2 separate regions of the Homo sapiens genome follow, and region 1 is linked to region 2. The links are contacts of gene promoters, found by promoter capture Hi-C in human tissues and cell types (Jung and others, 2019). All regions are on one chromosome and are shown on one strand. The core of a region is centred on a gene start or on the middle of the fragment in contact, and the rest is flanking DNA. Distances in the headings are between cores, read along the strand shown. Region 1 has its middle 54 kb from the start of LINC02131. Region 2 holds the start of ADAMTS18 (ADAM metallopeptidase with thrombospondin type 1 motif 18).

Region 1 (5,532 bases), core at 2,978-5,477, 100 kb before region 2:
GACATGAAGGCACCGGCTGTTGAAAGTGGGTTCTCCTCTGCTGGACTGCTGCTTACTTTGGCTTTATCTCTCCCTTGCAATCTCATATTTTATTAAGTGCATAATTTTCTATCAGCTTCAGACACCAGAGTCACCAACTGAGAAAAAAGCTGGGAGGCCAGTCTTTGACAGTGGTAAATTTCACTGTGCTTTAAAAAACCCCAACCAACACACACCATATGCTGCCATCTGAAGGAAGACTTATTTCATCGTTTAGACTTTATGGCCTTAGATTTCAGCATGACATGAGTGATGTGGAAGGGAAGTACATTTGGATGATAAGATGAGGATAATTTGTACTGGGAAATTATTCACAATTGTGATAAATAATCCCTGGCACACAATAACAGAAAATCTCAACCCTTGAACTGAATTATATATGTTTGTGTCTCATAAACAAGGTAGAAAATACATTTTTTCAACTGATGTGTTTGCAAAGTCCTCTCACTTCCAAGCTACCCTCGTTAATAATCATAAAGCAGCATATTTCCAAGCTCTGAATCACATTAATCTCTCCACATGTGACCCGATCATGCACTTTGGGAAAATGGATGGGATGCAGTTGCCTTTGTGTGTACTATGTGTTTTTTGTCATTTTCCTGGTGGCTGGCTTGGAAATGCAGAGTCTGGGAGAATGATGGAGAAACCAGGAAGATAAAAAATGAATGTTGCAAGAAAATTGGACTTTTTGTGGTTAATCACTAAAACAATGATGGAATGAAAAGATAAGGGTGTTTTCCCCCCCTTCCCGTACTACACATCAGAGAAGGTGAGAAGGGAATGATGTTTCTGTTCTTACTCACAAACCTTACCATCATATCTGGAAAAGTTAATAGGGAGACATAATAGGACTTTTTTTTTTTTTTTGAAAGCCTTTGCTTATAAATGCTATAGAGTTGGCTTTTCCAAGAAGGTGAGGTTATCCAAGGGTTGGCGGACAGGGGAATGCCTAAATGCAAGAAAGAATGTGAAGGTTCTTCAAGAAACAGAGGGGGGTAGAAGTGGGAAAGAGAATGGTGGAGTGAAGCAGAGGAAAGATAAGATGAACAGGCAAGGTAGGCTTGTGCCTCCCATCAAGGCTGCCCCTGGAAGAGAATGGATCTTGGATGGTACATGGAGACTGTTACATCATTGGAGGTTGGATACTACGTTTGGAGCCTTGATTGCTTTTAGGCTTCAGGTCAGTAGAGAAGTCTGCTGAGAGGAGTCTTTCTGTTGGGTCTTGCTGTGCTGTACTGCTTATAGACGAGCAGTGCCCAACAGGAGCATGGGTGACCTAGCAGATGGAGCAGGAGTGATGCTGGAAACCATCACAATGGATCACGAGCAGGCTCTAAACATGTCTTCTTAGCACCCCCTATACCCTGCCCCTCTTCCACCAGGGCAGCTCTGCTTCTTTCTGCTTATTATTTGAAGGTGCTGTATAAGACTTTAAAGAAAGGATCCTTTAAATAAATACCAACATTTGGAAGCCATTGATTGAGTTCAACCTCTGTATTTATCAGAGATAAAAAATGAATCCTAAAAAGATTATTTCCCCTCCATACAGTAGGTGAAGGGAATACAAAGCCACTGAAGTATCCTCAGAATAACACAAAGGGGTGGGAAGAGAGGCATGGGAGGGACAGGTGATGCTGTTTTGACCCAGTACAGGTTATCATGGGGACCAAATGAGATCAAGTGTCCAAAATCACTTAGTACACAATCAAGCTTTATTACTTCTGCTGCTTACCTGAGCCAAATCATTCATATGTATGTATTAATCACTTACAACAATGGTATATAATCTGTTCTGCGTGACAACAAAAATGGACGCGATGAAATTCACATTTCAAGACACTTATGATGGAATGCTTTCAAGTTAAATTCTACAATCTTACATAAAAAGAAATACTGTCTGGAGCTCAGTGCAAAAAGGAAGAAACTTTGGTTTTATAGAAAGAGTTCACCTGTGCTGTAGAGGGCAAGCAAAGTATCAGGTAACCACGGGAGGAGAGGAGGGTTTGAGTCAAGTGCTGAAGATTTGCTAAGTTTTGGCTAGAATCTGGAATCTCTGAACTAGAAGAAGGTCTGGGGACCTCTAGTCCAATTTGTTTGCAACTGTAGGACATTCCTGGGTGTGATCATATGGGAATTGTCTGCTTGAGCCTTTTAGGGAACCTAGATGATGATATTGCCAGGTACCATGCTAGGTTCTTCCCTTTTATAAAAGGCAACATTATGAAGCTGTGATTATCTCCATTTCATAGGAGGACAAAGGTCAGGGATGTTCAGTGACCTGTTGGGTTTGGCTAAGCTGTAAGGTTAAGTTTTGCAAGAAGAGCTGAGGAGTTAGGAGTTGATACTTTGGAATCAGACAGGGCTGCATTTAAATCCTGGTTTTGCTACTACATAGTTAGACAATTTACATAATCCCTCTGAGCTTCAGTTTCCTGGTGTGTAAAATGGGTATGATCATCATAAATCCTGCACAGAGTTATGAGAATTAGAGTTAGTAGACAATGTTGTAAAGCACTTAGAAAAGTATGTGGCATGTTAAGGACTTGACAAATAATGTGTTTCCACTCTCATGGACAGAAAAGAAAGAAACATAGACTGGAGGCTACAAATTCATATGTGGCTTTGAGGAGGGAAGTGCCATTATAAGAAACAAGATTTGGTTTTAAATGCTAAGTCTGAATGTCAAAGCTTGTCTCTTGCCCACAGTAATGAGCTTGCATTTGTCTGTATGTTTTGCTCAAGGTTTCTCAAGTCCAGCACTATGGGTATTTGGGGCTGGATAAATTCTTTCTTGGAGGGGTTTGCAGGGGTGGAGGCTGTCCTGTGCATTACAGTATATTTAGCAACATCCTTGGCCTCTGCCCATTAGATGCCGGCAGTACATCCCCCAACCCCCGTGACAATCAATACCGTCTGCAGACATTGTCGAGTGTTCCCAGGGAACAGAATTGACCCTGGCTGAGAACCATTTGTCTATCCATTGCCTCTGTTCCTTCTACTGCAGCAGTCCATGTAGCTCCCCTGTGAGCATTTTGGCCCAGACTCTCCTAGCAGCTCACAGCTGGAAAGTCCTTGCACAGCTTCCCCAGGAATATACAATAACTCAAACCAAGACTGTCTTTTTTCCCTTAATTCTCATGATTGCACAGTGTTGCTTTTCAGTTTTCAACTCTGGGAATTTATCTTTTCTCACTCGCCAAAGCCACAGCTGAGAGCAAGCAGCAGAAACTGATTAACACTGTCTGTCCAGGCTGAAGCTATTGAACAATTACAAGGTATATATGTCCCGAGTACAGTCTGAACTTACTATATGAACCCAGTTAAAGACAACATGGTTTGTATTTTTTACCATACGAATTTCGTGGGGACTATTTTTCTTCATTTTGTTTTCTTTTTCAGCTATTAGAAAAACTAACAGTCTTTGTCTTCATGTCCTCTTGTTCTTCTCTTTGTGTCATTTAAAATAATTACTGGGAATTTCAGTGAGGGGTTAGGGAGGTTTTTAAAGAGCCCACCTGGTTTAGACATGTCTGTGTGGATGTTGAGCACAGTGTAGTTCTCAGGGGCATGAGGCACACACTTTAAGATCAGGTTCCTTGTCTTGGTGGGGAGAAGAAAACCTGGATGGATATACATTTGGGGAAGAGCTGGAGGGCCTTAATATTAGTTAAGCACCAAGCTAAGCCTCTCACTCTGTTGTCTTATTCATCCCGCACAGGGTATTATGTGAAATGGAAATGATAGTAATTTATACTATAGAGAAAGTGAATAAGGCTCAGATAGAGAGATTCACTGACCCTATATTACACAATTTATAATCCCAGCTGGGATTCAACCGCACGCTCTCTGATGCCAAAGCCTGTACTCTTTGCAGCAATCAACAGGACCTCTACAGAGATGAAGGCTGATGTATTAGGATTTTATCCAGCCTGTTCTCACCCTTCCTTTCCTTTCCTTGATCCCTAATAGCATGCAAATTCTGAAATCTATGGTATATTCCTCTGTATACTCCCCCAGGAGGACCAAGTAGAGATTTTGGCTAAATCACAGGAGGATTGCAAATGACCAGGTAGGCAGGTCAAACCTTGCCTCATCTTGACTGACTTACTATCCTGCAGCTTCAAGATTTACTGATAATGGGTGGCCAGGAGAGGTGCAGAGTCTGGACAGATAGAAAATCAAGGATTTGAATACTTGCAATTTGAATCCAGGTCTACATGACCCTTGGGAAGTTATCTTAATTTGCTCATCTTTGAAATGGGAAAGATGATCCTACTTTGTAAGTTGGGAGAGCACCCAGGACAAAGGAGATGCTCCATAAATGGCTGTCTCCTTCTGCTCCACCTCCTTATTATGACGAGGCATCTTTACAGGTTTCTCCACCCACCTCTTCACACCTGCAGCCTGAACCTCAGCCCTGAAGGCCAGGGATGATGTATTTCTTCCTCACTGCATCAATACTATTTGAAGTCCCATCAATGACTCTAGATGCTTCCAAGAAGCAGGCTCTTTTTCCATGACTCGCTGCCCTCCCAACCTTTGTCCCCTTCCAAGTTTGGGGCACCCTGTCTCTCCCAAGGTCAGCAACTACTTCTCCAAGCTTTCCCTCTCCCTCTGCTTCCTGTTTGTAGCAGCCTCATGTACTCTATTAGGTGAGCTCCTACAAACACCACATTGTCTCCCCTTTCTTGGGACTTGGGGCAGTCAAAAGAGATACTGACCATTGCTTGTTTTTTCTTTTTATTCACATTTGAATGAACAAACAAACCTGTTTGTTTTATGACAGTGACCACAGACAACAGAGAAGAAATCATGTCTCCTGATGCAAACATGATACGGTCAGATATGGTCTGACCAAGAAATGTTTCCAACTTATTTTTATTTAATAGAACAGACATTGCAAAATGTAGCATATTCTCTTTTTCAGGCACTGTTCTAAATACCTGATGCATTTTAACTCATGTCATCTTCATAAGAAAGCCAAAGAAGTAAGCTCTTTGATTGTCTCCATTTTACAGATGAGGAAACAGATGTGAGAGGTGAAATAACTTGCCTGAGGAAACACAGCTCAAACTGGAACTGACTCCTAAGTCTATGATTTTAACCTCTATGCATATGTAATCCTTGTGAAGATGGTTCTATGAAAAGTCCGTAACAACATACAACCCATTAATTTAGTACCAGATGTAAAATGTGATTTAACTGCCTTATTGAAAAGAATAAACTTGCATGAAATTGAGACCTGACTGTTCCATTTCTAGGAAATTGTCCTTCTTGATGTGTTTGAGCCAGATCTGAGAGCTTCTGCCAGGAGAGCAATTAGAACTTGCAGACTCCCACTGAAGTCCCATTTAGCTCCGTGTGTCTGGGGGAGGAAACCAAGGCAGCTCATAGCAATAACTTCATTGAGTTGTTACCCTGTTGATACCTTTCTATTCATCAGGCTTGCAAAGGAAGCAGAGAACTCTGTTTCCCTGCCTTCCTCATTCCCTC
Region 2 (5,553 bases), core at 2,393-4,892:
GTCAACTGCACCGGAAGAGGCAGTAAGTGTTTCTTACTTTCCATGGAAGGGATGTTTGCATCTTCATGAATCCAGGGACAAAGGAAAGTGAGTAAGCAACGTGGTTTGCCATTTATTTTTTGATCTGTCTAGGAGGAGGCAAGTATCTTAATGTTATTTGGCAAAAAAAATAAAAATAAAAATAAAAATAAAAAAATAAAAAAGCTTATGTCAGTAGAAAAAGAAAATCAATGCCTAGAACTGTACCATTGATTTTAAAGGAAGAGAAAGGAGGAATATTTTTCGTGGTTAAGAGTGAAACACTGTGATCTCTCTATCTCAAATTTCCCCCCATTCCTCCCTCCCTCCCTCCCTCCCTCTGCTCCTCTTACAAACATTTATGAATGTCTGTTACGTGGCATATTCTGGGCTACGTCTGACAGAATACAACACATCAGCGATGAGCTCTGCCCCCCCATATCCCCATTAGTTTATTGCAAACTTCAGATAGCCATTGTAGTGTCCTAGATTTATCATTTTAAAATCAGGTAAGACTGACATTCCCAAGTAACTTAAAAGCTACTTTGCAGTTTATAACTCCAAGACTGGAGCATGGGCTCATGATTCTCTGTCACCATCTAGAGACAATTTATACATATTGCAGGGCCAGTTCCTGGAAAACTACGTATAAAATCATCCCAGAAGTTATGGCTTTGCAAGTATTTATCAGCCCTAAAAAAGAGACTAGACATCTACAAATGAATGGAACTGCAAGTTTTTATCTTCCAGGTCTAGAACTATGCAAGAAATGAGTCTCAGTTTCTGTGCCCAATCATGGAGGACTTGAATCTGTGGAGAGCAAAGATTGACTGGGGTATGGAAGAAGAGCTGTAAAATCAGTTAAGGATAAACTACTTACATTAGGTTCAAGAGGAGCCCTCTAGACTCTCAAAAAAAAATGGGCACTCAACAAAAAAATGTCACAGAATAGGACTGGGAATCTGTACTATTTATCCAGGTTCTCACCTAGGGGAATTTTACCCACCAGGAAACATTTGGAAATCTCACAACATTTTGTTGCATTTTGGGGGCTGCTACTGGCATTTAGTGAAGTAGAGGCCAGAAATGCTGCTAAACATCCTATGTTTATAATGTACAGGATGATAGCCCCTACCACAAATGATTATCCAGCCCAAATCTCAGTACTGCTGAGATTGAGAAATTCCACAATTGAGCATAGAGCATAGTTAAGGGTTGTTCTCCGAGACTTCAGCCCTGACCATGGCAAGTAACCTATATTGTTAGCCCTAAAAGAGGAGGATCAGAAAAATATGGACAATTTCATGCAAATGTATCTTAATGGAGAGACACAAATCAGGGCCATGGTTATTTTTAGCTGAGTGTGGACAAGCCCTTCACCCTCCAGGTTCCGTCAGTGTTCACCTGATGATGTCGCTGACAGTGCTGTCAATCCCAGTCTCCTGTTTTATTCAGTCCGTTGCTTGGTGATGTGACCTCCAGCAGTGTTTTACTGCATGTCTTTGATGTCCAGTTTCCTCTTGTGTCCAGTTCTTCATGGAATCATATGAAGCACTTAAGTCACTTGTGTCTGAATCACCCACAAGTGCTTACTACAAATGCATGCTTGGGCCCTACACCAAATCCATGGAATCAGAATCACAGTGCTTCATGGCCTGGAAATCTGCATTTTTAAGCTAGCATTACAGGTGATTTTGACGTATATTCAAGTTTGACACAGGATGTATGAAATAACAGAAATACACCATCACTTCTTAAAGTCCACTTATAATGTGCTTTGAAAAATATATTCACTTACCCCTCAGGCTATCCTTTTGATGTAGCATGTTGATTCCTATTTTACAGATTATAAAACAGAGGCCACAGAGCTTAACCAGATTAAGTAGGGAAACCCAAATGATTTGTTTAGCCCTGATGTTCTGTGAGGCTTAGCTTCATGTTCCTTAGGCAGACACATCACCTTCTCTGCCGCTACAGCCTGGGTTTACCTCTTCCCAGCTGCATTCCATAAAACCGACTATGTGTATTGAGCTATCACTTAATCGAGGCTTGACATAGACCTCATGTTAACTACTTCAGTACCCACAGGACTGAGCAGAGTAATACATCTACTTCCACTACCACTACCCTGGTCCAAGCAAGACACTGTCATTGTACCCCTTCATGCCAGCAACAGCTGCGTGGTTTGTTTCTCTCTGACCCTGCCTCAGCTCGTCCAATCCCTACACTCGCTCAAAAAATGGTTCACATTTTTTTATTATTGGATATGATGTTGCCTCCTACACATACACAAACCCACATTCATTTAAATCTAATGGTTTCCAACATGCTTCGCCCCAGCTTACAAGGTCCAGCTGACCCAGCAACTGCTGTGTTTGCTTCTTCCTCTGGCCTGTAACACTTTTCACGTGGCAATCACTTAACTACCTTGAGACCTTCACTTATGCTGTGCCCCCTGTCCTAACATGCAAGATCCTACTCCCCTCTTCCCTTATAAAACCGATCCACTCTCTCTGGCCTTATTTTAAGTGTCAGCTCCTAACAGATGCCTTGCACGTGTATGTATGCGTGTGTGTGTGTATATATATGTGTGTGTGTATATATACACCCACACACACACACACACACACACACACACACACACATCTTATCCCATCTAAATTAGATTCTGCTGCCATCTAATTTAGGAGACTATTCTTTTCCTTTTTAGTATTTGTGTTCATTTTGCTTCTATTACCGTTGTCGAGCTATCCAATCAGATTCGTTTCCACTGGCCCGTGAGACTGTATTTTGTTCACCTCTGCAAACAGGGATCAAAGGATCAAATAAATGTCTTGAGTAAACGAACAGGCACACAGCAAACTGGATGCACATTCCTAGTGATGGCGTGCGCTGTTTGTTATAACTGATTTCTGTGGGTTTGGGTATCTGGGGCCAAGATTCAATCTCGAAGAGTGGGAAGCACGGTCACGTCAAGAAGAGAGAGAGAGATCCGGGAGAAGAGGGAGGCCCCCGCGTGCCATGAGTTTTTACATGCTGCAGACAGTGACAGCTCATTGTTCTGGTCCTCCCGGCTGCCTCAGATTTGCTGACTCTGGGAAGCTAGGTCAGCTTGTGCGCATCTGAGCCTCCTTTTCCTCATCTTTATCAAGGAATTAATAATTCCCACCTGAAAAAGGTAGGGCCTGAGGCAAATGCGATACAGCAGGGGATAGCTCCCAGCACTTAGGAGGTGTTGAGGACGCTATCTTGACTCTTTGCCAGAAGAGTTGAAAATGAGAAGTCTGCACAGGCAGCGAAAAAGTCGCGCCACTCACCTGAGCCTTTCGTCTTCCGAACTCATCTCCCAGTGCGCTTAAATTACGTTTTCCAAGCCTGACCCTGGGCGCTCCCCTCCTTCTCATGGCGGTCGGTCCCTCCCTCCCTATCACTCCCACCCAGCCTCCCCGCCCCCTTCGCCCCCTCCCTCAGAGCTGGAGCCGGGAATCCCACGCCCTTGCACCAGCCCGGGGGCTCGGACGAGCCCGGGAGCCGCTGGTCGCCAATCACCGCGCGGTGGAGAGGCGGGCGCTCGGCTCCGGCGCGCTGGGGGAGCCAGCTGGCGCTGTCTTCCCCATCGCCTCAGACGCTCACACCGACACAGACAGACGCACAGACGGGCGGGCAGACACCGACAGTCTCCCAACCGTTTGCGCTCCAGTCCCGGCCCAGGGAGCCCCCCGTACCCTCTGGGGTGCCGCAAACTGCAGCTCGGCAGGCCCGCGCCGGGAGAAGGGAGGGCGCGCAGGCGGCCGGAGGAGGGGAGGTCCCAGCGCGCCCCCGCTGCGATGTGAACGGCGGCGGCTCTCACCTGGAGCCGCACCTGGGGCGCCGAGCTCCGGGGCCGCGGAAAGAATGCGCGCCGCCCGTGCGCTCCGCCTGCCGCGTCTGGCCACCCGCAGCCGCCGCGTCCGCACCTGACCATGGAGTGCGCCCTCCTGCTCGCGTGTGCCTTCCCGGCTGCGGGTTCGGGCCCGCCGAGGGGCCTGGCGGGACTGGGGCGCGTGGCCAAGGCAGGTGCCGCCGAGCGGAGCTCCGAGAGCGGGTGGCAGGGGGCGCCCGACGCCAGCCCCGCCGCGCCCCTCACGCGCGATGTCACCTTTTCTCTTGCAGGCGCTCCAGCTGTGCTGCCTCTGCTGTGCGTCGGTCGCCGCGGCCTTAGCCAGTGACAGCAGCAGCGGCGCCAGCGGATTAAATGATGGTTCGTATTTGCCCCCCATCCCCAAGAAGGGCCTTTCGCAGCACTTTGACCCTTCCTTCCCCCAAAGAGAGAAAAGATGGAAAAGCGCACCCCCTAACCTGGCAGGTGTGCGCTGTCTTGGAAATGGTTCCTGTTTGGAGAGGGGGGAAGGTTGGCAAGGACTGAACTTATCAAAAGAATCAACGCCCCGAGCTGCAAGTCACATAAAAGCAAATACTCTCCCTCCTTCACAGGTGGCTTGTTAAGAAGAACAAGAAAAAAAAAAAAATCCTAACTGCAGTGAGAAATTCGAAGGGAAGTGGACATTAACTAAGGAATTACTTATTTCCTCCCTCTCCTAACTCTTGTTGGGGGAAGCTAATTCTTAGTGGGAGATGAAAGAATGTGAGCCTCTTTCCTCTCTCCATCTTTCCTCATTTTTCTCTCGACTTCTGTTCCTTTTCTATCTCTTCTTTTTTTTTCATTTCTGCTTCCCTTGTTTTACGGATGTCTAAGGCTGCTTTTAGAGAGAGGAAAGCAGGTGACTTCAGGTCTCTGAGTCCTTTATCTATCTTTTCTGACGTTCGCCAGCCACAAACTTCCAGAAAATCCCTCACTTCTGACATTTATTAACTTCCCAGTGGAGCCCAGAGGGAAATCCTTGTTTTGATTGTTTCCCATCAGCTACAGGAGAACAGCTGATTCCTGACGCAAGGTGTCTAGGAAAACCTTACAGCTCAACCTGGATTCTTTAGAATTCTGTAATTTTTAGTTTTGCAAGGTTATCTCCTTTTCTTGTCAGGGGAATGGGGAGTGGGGCAGGATGGAGTCATGGAGAAGGGATTCACCTTTTGTCCAAACAGAGAGGCTGCAGTTTCTAAAACCACCCCTCATTCTTATATCAGGATCAGATGGCTGGAGGCCACGTCCGACCCAGCCACAACCTTGTAAGGACCTCACCCTTACTCACCTCCTGAAGTGGTCAATCAGAGATCACTCTTTACAGGGGACACTGACTGCCCTTCTTCCATCAAGAACCGAATGTAACCGACAGCCTGTTATTCTCCCCTTGGAAACAAGCTGGTAGCAGGTGTCTGGGGCCGTTTGATGGCTGGTTCCATAGAAGGCTGGCTGGATAACGTTCCTACAGAGCCTTCCAAGTAAGAGCAGGCAGAGTTTCAGATGATTTGGGACAAGAAGGTGAGACACAGACTTCCTGCATATGTCAGGAATCTTTTTCATAGTTAAGTTTTAGTTTGACAGAAGGAGAAGGTAGACTTTCTCTAAGAAATTGCACATAATCAAGAGCCACATCC

Evidence for each region. The method cuts DNA at HindIII sites, captures the fragments that hold promoters and counts their contacts. A contact is called where the count stands out against the background at its distance.
Region 1: a contact is called between a fragment that was not itself captured here and the fragment with the promoter of ADAMTS18 in region 2, in 2 of the 25 tissues and cell types used here (adrenal gland and hippocampus).

What each region holds. Positions count from the first base shown.
Region 1 is chr16:77,534,557-77,540,088 of GRCh38, reverse strand. No RefSeq gene overlaps it. Among named protein-coding and RNA genes, the nearest start is that of LINC02131, 54 kb to the left of the region's middle. The HindIII fragment of the contact is 3,978 bases long and covers 2,239-5,532 here.
Region 2 is chr16:77,433,123-77,438,675 of GRCh38, reverse strand. ADAMTS18 (ADAM metallopeptidase with thrombospondin type 1 motif 18) reads left to right here and starts at 3,642. Exons shown (of 23, transcript NM_199355.4): 1 at 3,642-4,070; 2 at 4,171-4,258. The coding sequence starts at 3,981. RefSeq lists an enhancer at 3,446-3,946. The HindIII fragment of the contact is 10,424 bases long and covers 1-5,553 here.